Regions from separate parts of the Homo sapiens genome. Here region 2 is linked to region 1. The links are contacts of gene promoters, found by promoter capture Hi-C in human tissues and cell types (Jung and others, 2019). All regions are on one chromosome and are shown on one strand. The core of a region is centred on a gene start or on the middle of the fragment in contact, and the rest is flanking DNA. Distances in the headings are between cores, read along the strand shown. Region 1 holds the start of ZNF354C (zinc finger protein 354C). Region 2 overlaps ZNF454 (zinc finger protein 454).

Region 1 (5,839 bases), core at 1,767-4,266:
TGTATATAGCAGGTTGTCTTTTTATAAAGATTTAAAATGTTGCAAAAGTAAACAATGTTTAGGGACACATGCATGTGGAGTAATTATCAAACAAAACAAAGGAATGCTGAAAGCAACTCAGGAAAATGACTTGGGAGCACTGTGAACAAGGCTTCCAAATTTTGGGTAAATTTCTCTTTGGTAACCCAAGTGTTGGGTATGTGGGTATTTGTTTTATTATTATTAAACCATGGGCCTCGCACAGTGGCTCATGCCTCTAATCCCAGCACTTTGGGAGGCTGAGGTGGGCAGATCACGAGGTCAAGAGATCAAGACCATCCTGATCAACATGGTGAAACCCCATCTCTACTAAAAATACAAAAATTAGCTGGGCATGGTGGTACGTGCCTGTAGTCCCAGCTACTCAGGAGGCTGAGGCAGGAGACTGCTTGAACCTAGGAGGTAGAGGTTGCAGTGAGCCAAGGTCGCGCCACTGTACTCCAGCCTGGCGACAGAGTGAGACTCCATCTCAAAATAAATAAATAAATAAATAAATAAAAACAAAAATCTGTGCCTATGAATACATTATCTCCTGTGTATGGTACACATTAAAAGAATTTAAAATAACATAACTATCTTGTGGTTTTGATTTGCATTTCTCTGATGATTAGTAATGTTGAACATTTTTCATATACCTGTTGGCCATTTGAATGTCTTTTTGAGAAATGTCTATTCAGGTCCTTTGCCTATTTTTTTTTTTTTTTTTTTTTTTGAGGCAGGGTCTCACTCTGTCACCCTGGCTGGAGTGCAGTGGTGCTATTTTTGCTCACTGCAGCCTCAACCTCTGGGTTCAAGCAATCCTCTGCGCTCAGCCTCCTGAGTAGCTGGGACTACAGGCCTGCACTGGCATGCCTGGCTAATTTCGTTTATTTTTTGTAAAGACAAGGTCTCACTATGTTGCTGAGGCTGCTCTGGAACCCCTGGGCACGAGTGATCCATCCACTTCCGCCTCCCAAAGTGCCGGGATTACAGGCATGAGTCATTGTGCCCAGCCCTTTGCCCATTTTTAATGGGACTCTTTGTATACTGTTGTGGTTTTTTTTGTTTTGTTTTTTCTTTGAGATGGCATCTCGCTCTGTCACCCAGGCTGGAGTGCAGTGGCATGATCTGAGCTCACTGCAACCTCCACCTCCCAGGTTCAAGGAATTCTCCTGCTTCAGCCTCCCAAGTAGCTGGGGTTTCAGGCATGCACCACCACGCCTGGCTATTTTTGCATTTTTAGTAGAGACGGGGTTTCGCCACATTGGCCTGGCTGGTCACAAACCTGTTATTTGAATTCTTTGTATATACTGGGTATTAGTCCTTTGTTGGATGAGTAATTTATAAATATTTTCTCTCAAGTTGTTGCTTCACTCTGTTGTTTCTTTTGCTGTGCAGACACTTTTTAGATTAATATAGTTGTTTATTTTTCTTTTTGTTGCCTGTGCTTTTGAGGTCTTAGCCACAGACCTCAAAAGCACAGGCAAGAAAAAGAAAAATCTTTGCCTAGATCAATGTCCTGAAGAGTTGTCCCGATGTTTCCTTCTATCAGTTTTATAGTTTGGAGTCTTTAAATCTTTAATCTATCTGGAGTTGACTTTTATATATGTTGAGAGAGAAGGGGTCCAAGTTCATTCTTCTGCATATTATTATCCAGTTTTCCCCAGAACCATTTATTAAAGACGTAGTCCTTTCCTCATTGTGTGTTCTTGGCACCTTTGTTGAAAATCAGTTGGCTGTAAATGGGTGCACTGATTTCTGGGTTCTCTTATTCTGTTCCATGGGGGGGTGTGTGTGTCTATTTTTATACAAATATCATGCTCTTTTGGTTACTAACACTTTCTAATTAGATATAAGCTCACTCCAGTTAGAATGATTATTATTATAAAGACAAAAAAATGACAGATGCCAGTGAGGATTTGGGGAAAAGGGAACTCTTATACACTATTGGTGGGAATGTAAATTAGTACAGCCACTATGGAAAACAGTGTGGAGGTTTCTCAAAAAACTAAAAATGGAACTACCATACAATCCAGCAACCCTACTACTGGTAAAGGGAGAGAAATCAGTATATGAAAAGGATACCTGCACTCACGTTTGTCACTGCACTATTTGCAGTAGCCAAGATATAGACTCAACCTACCAGCAATAGATGAATGGGTAAAGAAAATGTCATACATAGACACAATGGAATACTATTCTGCCATAAAAATGAATGAAATAATGTATTCACAGCAACATGGATGGAGCCGAAGGTCATTATGTTAAGTGAAATAAGCCAGGCACAGAAAGACAAGTACTGCATGTTCTCACTTATATTCGGGAGTTAAAACACTTGATCTCATGGACATAGACAACAGGAGGATAGATACCAAAGGCCAGGAAGGCCAGAAAGGAAGGGGAATGAAGAGAGGTTGGTTATGGGTACAAACATACAGTTAGATGGAAGAAATAATTTCTAATATTTAATAGCAGACTAGGGTGACTATACTTGGCAATAATATTGTGTATATTTCAAAGTAAATCGAAGAGAGGGCTTGAAATGATACCAACGCATAAAAATGATAAATGCTTAAGGTGATGGATACCCCAAATACTGTGACTTGATGATCATTACAGTCTATGCACGTAACAAGCACTCACATGGACCCTATACATTATGTAAATTATTTTGTATCAACAGAAAAGTAATCACAACCAGCGGTGGGAGCTACAGCACACTGATCCTCCTAAATGAATCTAATTTCCGGTTTTGTTTTTTCAAACTACTCCGCTTGCTTAACAAGTGCGCGGGCTGTAGGCAGCACGGCCAGCAGCTGGAGACCTCCTGCCTCGTGTGCGGCGTGCGTACTCCCTCGCACTGCAGCCCCTCCGCGCACTGTCGCCTTTGAGAGCTCTCGTTGGCGGAGGCGGTTCCTCTCCCGGAGTTCGCAGCGCGCACCGCGGCGTCCCCTGGGAAGTGTAGTCGGCGTGGGGCCGGAGGCATGCCGGGAGTGGTAGTTCTCCCGCGGTTGGCGGGGTTTCGGGGACAGCTCGCGGCCTTTCGGGGGTTCTCCTGGCTTGGGCCATCCAGGCTTGGCTAGGATTGCCGGCCTGGGGTTGAGGCGCTCGCAGTGGTCTCTTCCGGGCCGGGGTGGATCCGGGCCTCTCCAGCGAGTGGGCGGCGTGCAGCCTCGTCTGGGCTTCTGGGACCAGCCCTACGCGGCTCGGGCCCCTTGGCCACTGGGTCCCGGGGCGCCGTCCGCGAGCGGCCTGGACTGCCGGAGACCCGCGGGAGGGAGCGCCTCGCCAGGTGAGCTGGGTGCGCCGGGCCGCTGGGGTGGGGATGCCAGCCTTTTGTCGTTGTTCATTCTGCGATTTTCTTCTGTGCATTTTCTTCTGAGTAACGGAAATAATAAAAGCAATAGCTGATGCCCGCCGAGAGCGCTCGGGTGCCAGGCACCAGACTAGCGCATCGCCCGAACGAACTCCGCGCATCCCTGCTAACAGATAGGGTGGCGGTACGCTGTTCCCGCTCTGTCAGGAGGAGACCGAGGCAGAGTGGCGAGGTCATTGCCCCAGATGTAACTGGGGCCTGGGGCTAGGATCAGGATTGCCTTCCCGGCCCTTATGACTTTGGGCAGGTCACGACCTCCTGGTTTTCAGTCTCCGTAACATCTGTAAATGTGAAGATTGAAAATACTGCGTGGAAAACACTCACCGCTTCCTGGGAGGAGGTGCGCTTCGTCGCGTAACCGAGGCCTTGTGTGGCAGCTTCCCCTGGGCTGGTCGAGGCACCCGCTGGAACTGGCCTGGCAGAGCCCCAGGTTGGCTCCATGCTAGGGGGCACCCTGAGTCGCCGCTGCAGATCGCGGGCCTGGAGGCCCTCACACTTGCCCGGCTGCCCCAGGCAGCCTCTTCCCTTGCTTTCTGTGGGGCGGGCACGGTTTCCACCTCTCCCACCTGGGGTTGGTGTTTGGGCAGCGACGGCTGTTTCTGGTTGTGGGTGCCATTAGAGGCGGCACCTGTGGAGTATTAGGAGGGACAGCAAAGCTCTGGCTTTGGGTGGGGACAGTGCCTTAATCCTGTTACCTTGGGTAAAGTGTGGTAAGGCCCGACGAAGATCTAGTAAAGAGGCTGGGAAAGCTGAGTGGTTGGATTATGCTCACAGTTTCTTGGGGAGAACACAGCACTCCACGGAAGGACCACTCAGGGCGAGCAGTGGGGTCTGTCACCAGGGTAGGGATGCGGGGAAGCCTCTTTATCGTGGCTACCATAGGGAGGAAAGGGTGAGGCAGGGCAGGCAGGATGAGGATCAGCTAGCTAGGCTGGGAAGTGGCGCCCCAGGAGACTGGATATTCATTGCGACTTTTAGGTGTGCAGTTCAAAGCTAGCGAAGGACTCCAGACATCCATGGGGGAGTCACGGTTTGCCTAGAGGTAGCTGAGAGGCCCGAAGGTGGAAGTTAAAGAGTCCAAGTGCAGAAATAGAAGTAGGGTTGGCACATTGCCCTAGTAAACTAGTAAACACTCTTCTTGCTTTACATCATTACGGGGGGTGGCTTTTTTGAGACCTGATGGACATTATGGGCGGTTGTAACTTCCTCTCTCCAAGCCATCTCCTGACGCCAGGGTTCCTCTTGACACCTTTTTCCTCTGCAGACCCACCGTGTCCACACTCTGCTCTCCCTGGGCAGGAAGACTGAGGAGGAAGGGATGGCTGTGGATCTGCTGTCTGCTCAGGTGAGAGTGAGTGAAGGTTGTCTTTTTCATCAGTTGGCTTCTGGATTCAGAGATGGTAGACATGTTTCCAGACTTTGTCCAGGTACTTTTTGGTCCAACCAAAACGATGAAGAATCCGGAACCTCAAAAGTTTTTCCCAGTGTCTTGGGCTTAGCAAGGGGCTGCTGAGGAATGTGCCTCTTTTGTCCCGAGACTACTCTTAATTCACCCCGCTCACTCTGTGATCCACATTTGAGGCAGTTCTGAGCATATGCTTCCCACTACACTGGTGCTGGGTGGGGAGAATGGGGCATGAAGCAGTCTCTGTCTTCATAGAGGATATAGTCACACTTGGGGCTAAGATGTGGAAGGGCCGGAAGACAGCCTCCACAAGCATTTATTGAGCCCTATGTACAGGATCCTGTGCAGCACACGGGATGGAAAGAGGAAAGCTGTCATTTCCATCTTCTGGGAGTTCGTGGTATCGATCTTAGGAAACATGATTAAATGTTCAGGGGAAATATCCCAGAAGTGGGGGCATTCTGAGTTTATACTGGAGGCCAGGACTGATATTGGTGCTTAGAGAAGACTAAGGGCATCCCAGAAGGAGTTCAGCGTGGTTTGGGCTTTGAAGCCCAGAAGGAGGCAGGCCTGGGGCCTTCCCCTCCCAGTGCAGCGGGGATGTTAAGCTGTCCAAATGTCCATCTCACCTGTCTGATTGATTCCTCTATTTCCTTCTCTGATTCTTTTCTTTTTTCTCTGCTAGTTTAGCCTCTCTACCTGGGCTCTTTTTTCTTGTTCTTTCCCCATTTAAGATCCATTTTCATTACTTTAACCCTCAGCGTTCTGAGTATCTTCCCCAAATCTGTCCTCAGGCCTGACCTTTTTCCTAGCATTCCTGTCTGTCATTCCGACGTGGAAGTCCCATCTTTCCTTCAACACCAGCTCCCTTTCCTCTAGTCCCCTCCCTTCTGTGCATTTTTTCTGCCATACTCCAAAGCCTATTCTTCATTGACTCCTTTTCCAATAGCCCATAGGCTGGAAATGTGGACTCAGGAGCTTGACTTCATGGCTTCAAATCCAAGCTAGGGATGTAGCCCTGAGCAAGTTATTTTATCTCT
Region 2 (5,902 bases), core at 1,621-4,120, 95 kb before region 1:
GCAGCTAGAGTGCAAGCAAACCATCTTAGTCCAGCCAAGGCCTGTAATAGCTGGAGGTTGGTCACAATATTTGTAAAGCTATGTCAACTGCTCATTTGCCCGTACTACTAGTTTTGTAGCCCTGCAGGAGTCCCGGCTGAGAGCTTCACATGTTATTATGACCTCTCCTTGGAAGGTCCTGGTTCTGTTGTACTAAAAGACTAGAAAATTCTGGATTTCTGCTTAACTTTAATCTTTTGCCCTGTAAAGCTTAAGAATTCAATAAAATGTTTGAGTAACAAGCCACTGAGTATTGGGATCACCTCTCTATATTTTCATTCTCTCCCAAATATTAGACTATAAAGTCTGCCTGGGTGACATCTGATGCCTTCAGACAGATAACTTTTTCCAATTCAGATTTTCTAGTTGTTTTCTGCAGAAATGTTAGTCTGCCACAGTCTACTCTATTTGGGCCAGAAGTGGAAGTCAGTCCTTAACATTTTGACATTTGGCAATACCGATGTTTAACTTTGACCATTCTTTGTTTTGAACAAGGATATATTATTCTGAGCTCAACAGGATTTTAGTCTTGAAATGCGCCTGTTTACCTTTCTTTTCCTAGTAAGTAAAGAGGTTTGTTTCTTTGATTCTAAAATGATACCAGGAGTGCCTTTTTGTAGAAGATTTTCTGCAGCGAGTGGGAAAAGGAGGTAATAAGGATGGCTTGTTCTTGATGGGATTTCTCGTGAATTCTGCATCGTCTGTGTTTGGAATCTAGCCCTTAGTTTTACATTTTAGGCCCTCTCCTGTTTGCCCTGAGAATACTTGCCGGCAGTGCTTGCAGCTGCAGCGTTTATCCTGAGATAACTTTGCCACAAAATATCTCATGGCACATTTCCCTCCCATGGGTGTCACATTATTCATATGGGTTTGGAGACATTGCTTCCTCACAAGCAATAGGAGGTCCTTATTTTTTTAGTAGATATGAGCATTTCACACAGCCTGTACAGCGGCCTAGCTTTTTATTATTCATCTGAATGCTCAAATGAGCCTATATCTTGATTTTAGTATTCACTCTAGAGTCAAGGTTTTTCCTACCAAGTGTCGACTACTATTTTCAGCAGTTTCTTTAGGCCACATCTGGCTGGCTTTAAAAATCATCTCATTTGAATCGACAGGGTACTTTTCTTCTTGTCTGTTAGCATCATGTGGTCTTTATCAGGTTTTTCTTTTTTTTGAGGCTTAGAAAATCAGATAACTTCTCTATTATCACAAAGAAAATATGTGTTGTACTCAATTCTAACCCAGGCCTGTGACTTTTTTTTTTTTTGAGACGGAGTCTCACTCTGTCACCCAGGCTGGAATGCAGTGGCGCGATCTCGGCTCACTGCAAGCTCCGCCTCCCGGGTTCACACCATTCTCCTGCCTCAGCCTCCTGAGTAGCTGGGACTACAGGCTCCCACCACCACGCCCGGCTAATTTTTTGCATTTTTAGTAGAGACGGGGTTTCACCGTGTTAGCCAGGATGGTCTCGATCTCCTGACCTCGTGATCCACCCGCCTTGGCCTCCCAAAGTGCTGGGATTACAGGTGTGAGCCACAACGCCCAGCCACCTGTGACTTCTAAGATCATGCTTCCAAGCTCTCCTGCCTCATACATTATACATGAGATCAACCCCTGCTGTAGTCCTCTGTTCACCCCTCTTTTCTGTCCTTTCTTGTTGTTACTTCAGAAAATCTTCAAACTTGAAATCTTTCTGTTAGCATTATGAAGAGGCTCGTCATCTTGCCCCATCCAAATGTTTTGCTAGGGTAAAACAGACATTTTTATTTTTAATGTCTTTCAGACTGGATGACTATGCCTGCCAGTAAGAAATCTACTGTCAAGGCAGAGATTCCTGAAGAAGAATTGGATCAATGGACAATAAAGGAAAGATTCAGTAGCAGTAGTCACTGGAAGTGTGCTAGCCTGCTGGAGTGGCAATGTGGAGGCCAGGAGATCAGTTTGCAGCGAGTGGTACTCACTCACCCCAACACCCCATCACAGGAATGTGATGAATCCGGGAGCACTATGAGCTCATCTCTTCACAGTGATCAAAGTCAGGGATTTCAACCTAGCAAAAATGCCTTTGAGTGTAGTGAGTGTGGAAAAGTCTTCTCTAAGAGTTCAACTCTTAATAAACATCAGAAAATTCATAATGAAAAAAATGCAAATCAGAAAATTCATATTAAGGAGAAAAGATATGAATGTAGAGAATGTGGGAAAGCCTTTCACCAGAGTACGCACCTTATCCATCACCAAAGAATTCACACTGGCGAGAAACCCTATGAATGTAAGGAATGTGGCAAGGCCTTCTCAGTGAGCTCCTCACTTACGTACCATCAGAAAATTCATACTGGAGAGAAGCCTTTTGAATGCAACTTATGTGGAAAAGCTTTTATCCGAAATATACACCTTGCCCATCATCATAGAATACATACTGGAGAGAAACCTTTTAAATGTAACATTTGTGAAAAAGCCTTTGTGTGCAGGGCACACCTTACCAAACACCAGAATATCCACAGTGGAGAGAAACCCTATAAATGCAATGAATGTGGAAAAGCCTTTAATCAGAGTACAAGTTTCCTTCAGCATCAGAGAATTCACACTGGAGAGAAACCCTTTGAATGTAATGAATGTGGGAAGGCCTTCAGGGTGAACTCTTCCCTTACTGAACATCAGAGAATTCATACTGGAGAGAAACCTTATAAATGTAATGAATGTGGGAAAGCTTTCAGGGATAATTCATCCTTTGCACGACATCGGAAAATTCACACTGGAGAGAAACCTTACAGATGTGGCTTGTGTGAGAAAGCCTTTCGGGACCAATCAGCACTAGCCCAACATCAGAGAATTCATACTGGGGAAAAACCTTATACATGTAACATATGTGAAAAAGCCTTCAGTGACCATTCAGCCCTTACCCAACATAAGAGAATTCATACTAGGGAAAAACCTTACAAATGTAAAATCTGTGAGAAAGCCTTTATCCGAAGCACTCACCTGACTCAACATCAGAGGATTCACACAGGAGAGAAACCCTATAAATGTAATAAATGTGGGAAAGCTTTTAACCAGACTGCAAACCTCATTCAGCATCAGAGACATCATATTGGAGAGAAGTGATATGAATGCAGTTTGTATGGAAGACCTTTGAGACTGAGTAGATGAATTATTGAATGTGAGATAATCCGTTCTAGAGAATAACTATGAAAGCTTGCATCAAGATAGTCACTTTATTTACTGAGGGTCAGGTTTCACAGTGTCATGGGGTTTGGGCATTTAAGAATGGCAAACACTCGGCTGGGCACAGTGGCTCACGTCTGTAATCTTTGGGAGCACTTTGGGAGGCCGAGGTGGGCGGATCACGAGGTCAGGAGATCGAGACCATCCTGGCTAACAGGGTGAAACCCCATCGCTACTAAAAATATAAAAAATTACCCGGGCATGGTGGTGGGCGCCTGTAGTCCCAGCTACTCGGGAGGCTGAGGCAGGAGAATGGCATGAACCCGGGAGGCAGAGGTTGCAGTGAGCCGAGATCGTGCCACTGCACTCCAGCCTGGGCGACAGAGCAAGACTCAGTCTCAAAAAAAAAAAAAAAAAAAAGAATGGCAAACACTCCTCATTCTTTAATACTGCCTCAAATAGCAGTACTGTTTGATTTGTCTGAATTACCAAGCATCAGAACCAAAATGGAGCTTCATTAACAGCATTAAAAAATTGGTTTATCAAATTACATTTTGACTATTAGAGAAACTGAAATTGTAAAAATTAAAGCTGAAAAGCAAAGGAACAAAAAGGTAAAATGGCCTACGAGCGTTGCACTCTACTAGATTCTCTTACATAAGAGAGTTGCCAGCTTTAATGGAAGCCTTAGTCCTCTCCTCACCCACACCACCGACACCCAGTGTAGAGAAAGTACGTCACCCACACTTATTTAAACCATGCTTCCTGCCTTTTGCTTCAAACCATCCATTGTCAGATCTCTCTGGTCTGTCTGCTGGCTTCATCCCTGTAGAATCCCTGTGAGACGATTCATTTGCCCCAAATGACCCTCTTCTGACTTAGCAACGCCTAACTGTCTGCATGGTGCCACCTATCACTGCCCCTATGGGGAGTGTGGTGGTCTGGTCTCAGACACAGTCCATGATGTTGAATATCACACCCAAATCCAGCCTTCAGAACTTGGTATCTCTGTCCAGAAGGCACAACTTGATCAAAATTCTTGAGTTATGCATTTCCTCTGGGCTTCAGCTTGACTGATCCTGGGATGGCACCTGAAGGAGGGGCTTTGCCTGTGCCGCCTTTACCCTCCAATTGTTCTGTACTTAGTGACTCTACACATCAGTCAGGGACTTGCTCAGCTTCAGGTGCAATGATCCCACCCACTTACGTTGTACTATTCCCAGTCACCTCCATCTGTCGCTGCCCATTTCTCTATGTGCAATTGATATAAGAGGTGAAAGCCCCAAGGCCAGTTCTCAGAATGCTCTGACCCACTCTCTTCCCCTGGCTGTACAGTCCACTGTGTCCACTGCATTAGAGTACATTTACTACTCCCAGGATAAACTGCTGCATCCTGGTCCTTCCCCTGCTTTTTCTAGGTTTCTGGAGGTAGTAATTCTATATTCATAGGAAAGCAGACAGCTTTGAATTTCTGCTTTTGCATTTGGAAGTGGTCATTTCCTCTCCTCCATCTGGGCCTTCCACTATTTAAAGACTCATGCTGACAGTGGTGAGAAAAATGTTGAGTAATTCCATGAGTCAAGAAGTGGTCACTAGCACCATTGATATTCTCTGGCAAGGGCCATGTCCGTGTTCAAAAGTTTGAGTGGTACAGTCGTCCTGCAAGTATGGTTCCTTTACCCTGTTTTTTTTTTTTCTTTTTCTTTTTCTTTTTTTTTTTTTTTGAGACAGAGTCTTGCACTGTCGCCCAGGCTGGAGTGCAGTGGTGTGATCTCGGCTCACTGTAACTTCCACCTCCTGGGTTCAAGTGATTCTCCTGCCTCAGCCTCCCGAGTAGCTAGGTCTACAGGCACCCACTACCATGCCCAGCTAATTTTTTGTATTTTTAGTAGAGTTGGGGTTTCACTATGTTGGCCAGGCTGGTCTCAAACTCCTGACCTTGTGATCCGCCCACCTCGGCCTCCCCAGGTGCTGGGATTACAGGCATGAGCCACCGCACCCGGCCACCTTCCCCGTCTTTAATCCTTCAGTGCTTTCAGTAGAAATCACACAGATAAGTAACATCTGTGCATCACACACACACACACACACACACACACACACACACAGCCTCTGAGGGCCCTCTCCCTTTTCCTACCACAAGGAATGGAGGAGCCTTCACTACTGCAAGCTGGAATATATCATGCAGTGAAGATGGGAGGCCAAGCAAATTTTTCTGGAAAGTGAAGTGGCAAGTTCCTGGTATGTGGAAGTGCTGTCCGTCAAGTTGAGCAACCCCCTGACCCCTCAGAATGGAGCACCTCACCCCCATGTTACAGAAGAGGATATTCTATATCATGGTAGAACTCAGTGGGCTCTGGGTTGCAACATAGACTTGGAAGCTTCCAGCAGCTTCAAAGTCCAAGTAATCTAAATTCAGCCTTCATCTAATAAAGGCCACCTTTGTGGGCCAGCATCTCCTGTTAGCTGATCAGCAACTCAGACTTTCTTCCCTATTAAGCTGCATGTGAAGCAGTATTTCAAGAGGTTTCTTGGGATTGCTTGTGTCCCATGTCCTCAGAAGTTCATCTGCAGCTTCACGCAGCTGACACCCTCAGATTCCAGAGTAAACCTGAAAAAACCACGTTCACTGCTACAGATGTCTGTCTTCACCCCATCCATGTAATGTGCCAGGTCTTAACTACCACCCCCTTACCTT

Evidence for each region. The method cuts DNA at HindIII sites, captures the fragments that hold promoters and counts their contacts. A contact is called where the count stands out against the background at its distance.
Region 2: a contact is called between a fragment that was not itself captured here and the fragment with the promoter of ZNF354C in region 1, in 2 of the 25 tissues and cell types used here (bladder and pancreas).

What each region holds. Positions count from the first base shown.
Region 1 is chr5:179,057,357-179,063,195 of GRCh38, forward strand. ZNF354C (zinc finger protein 354C) reads left to right here and starts at 3,017. Exons shown (of 5, transcript NM_014594.3): 1 at 3,017-3,310; 2 at 4,659-4,739. The coding sequence starts at 4,713. RefSeq lists an enhancer at 3,336-3,871. The HindIII fragment of the contact is 19,620 bases long and covers 1-5,839 here.
Region 2 is chr5:178,962,830-178,968,731 of GRCh38, forward strand. ZNF454 (zinc finger protein 454) reads left to right here. Exons shown (of 5, transcript NM_001178089.3): 5 at 1,826-3,604. The coding sequence ends at 3,144. Among named protein-coding and RNA genes, the nearest start is that of ZNF454, 25 kb to the left of the region's middle. The HindIII fragment of the contact is 3,078 bases long and covers 1,332-4,409 here.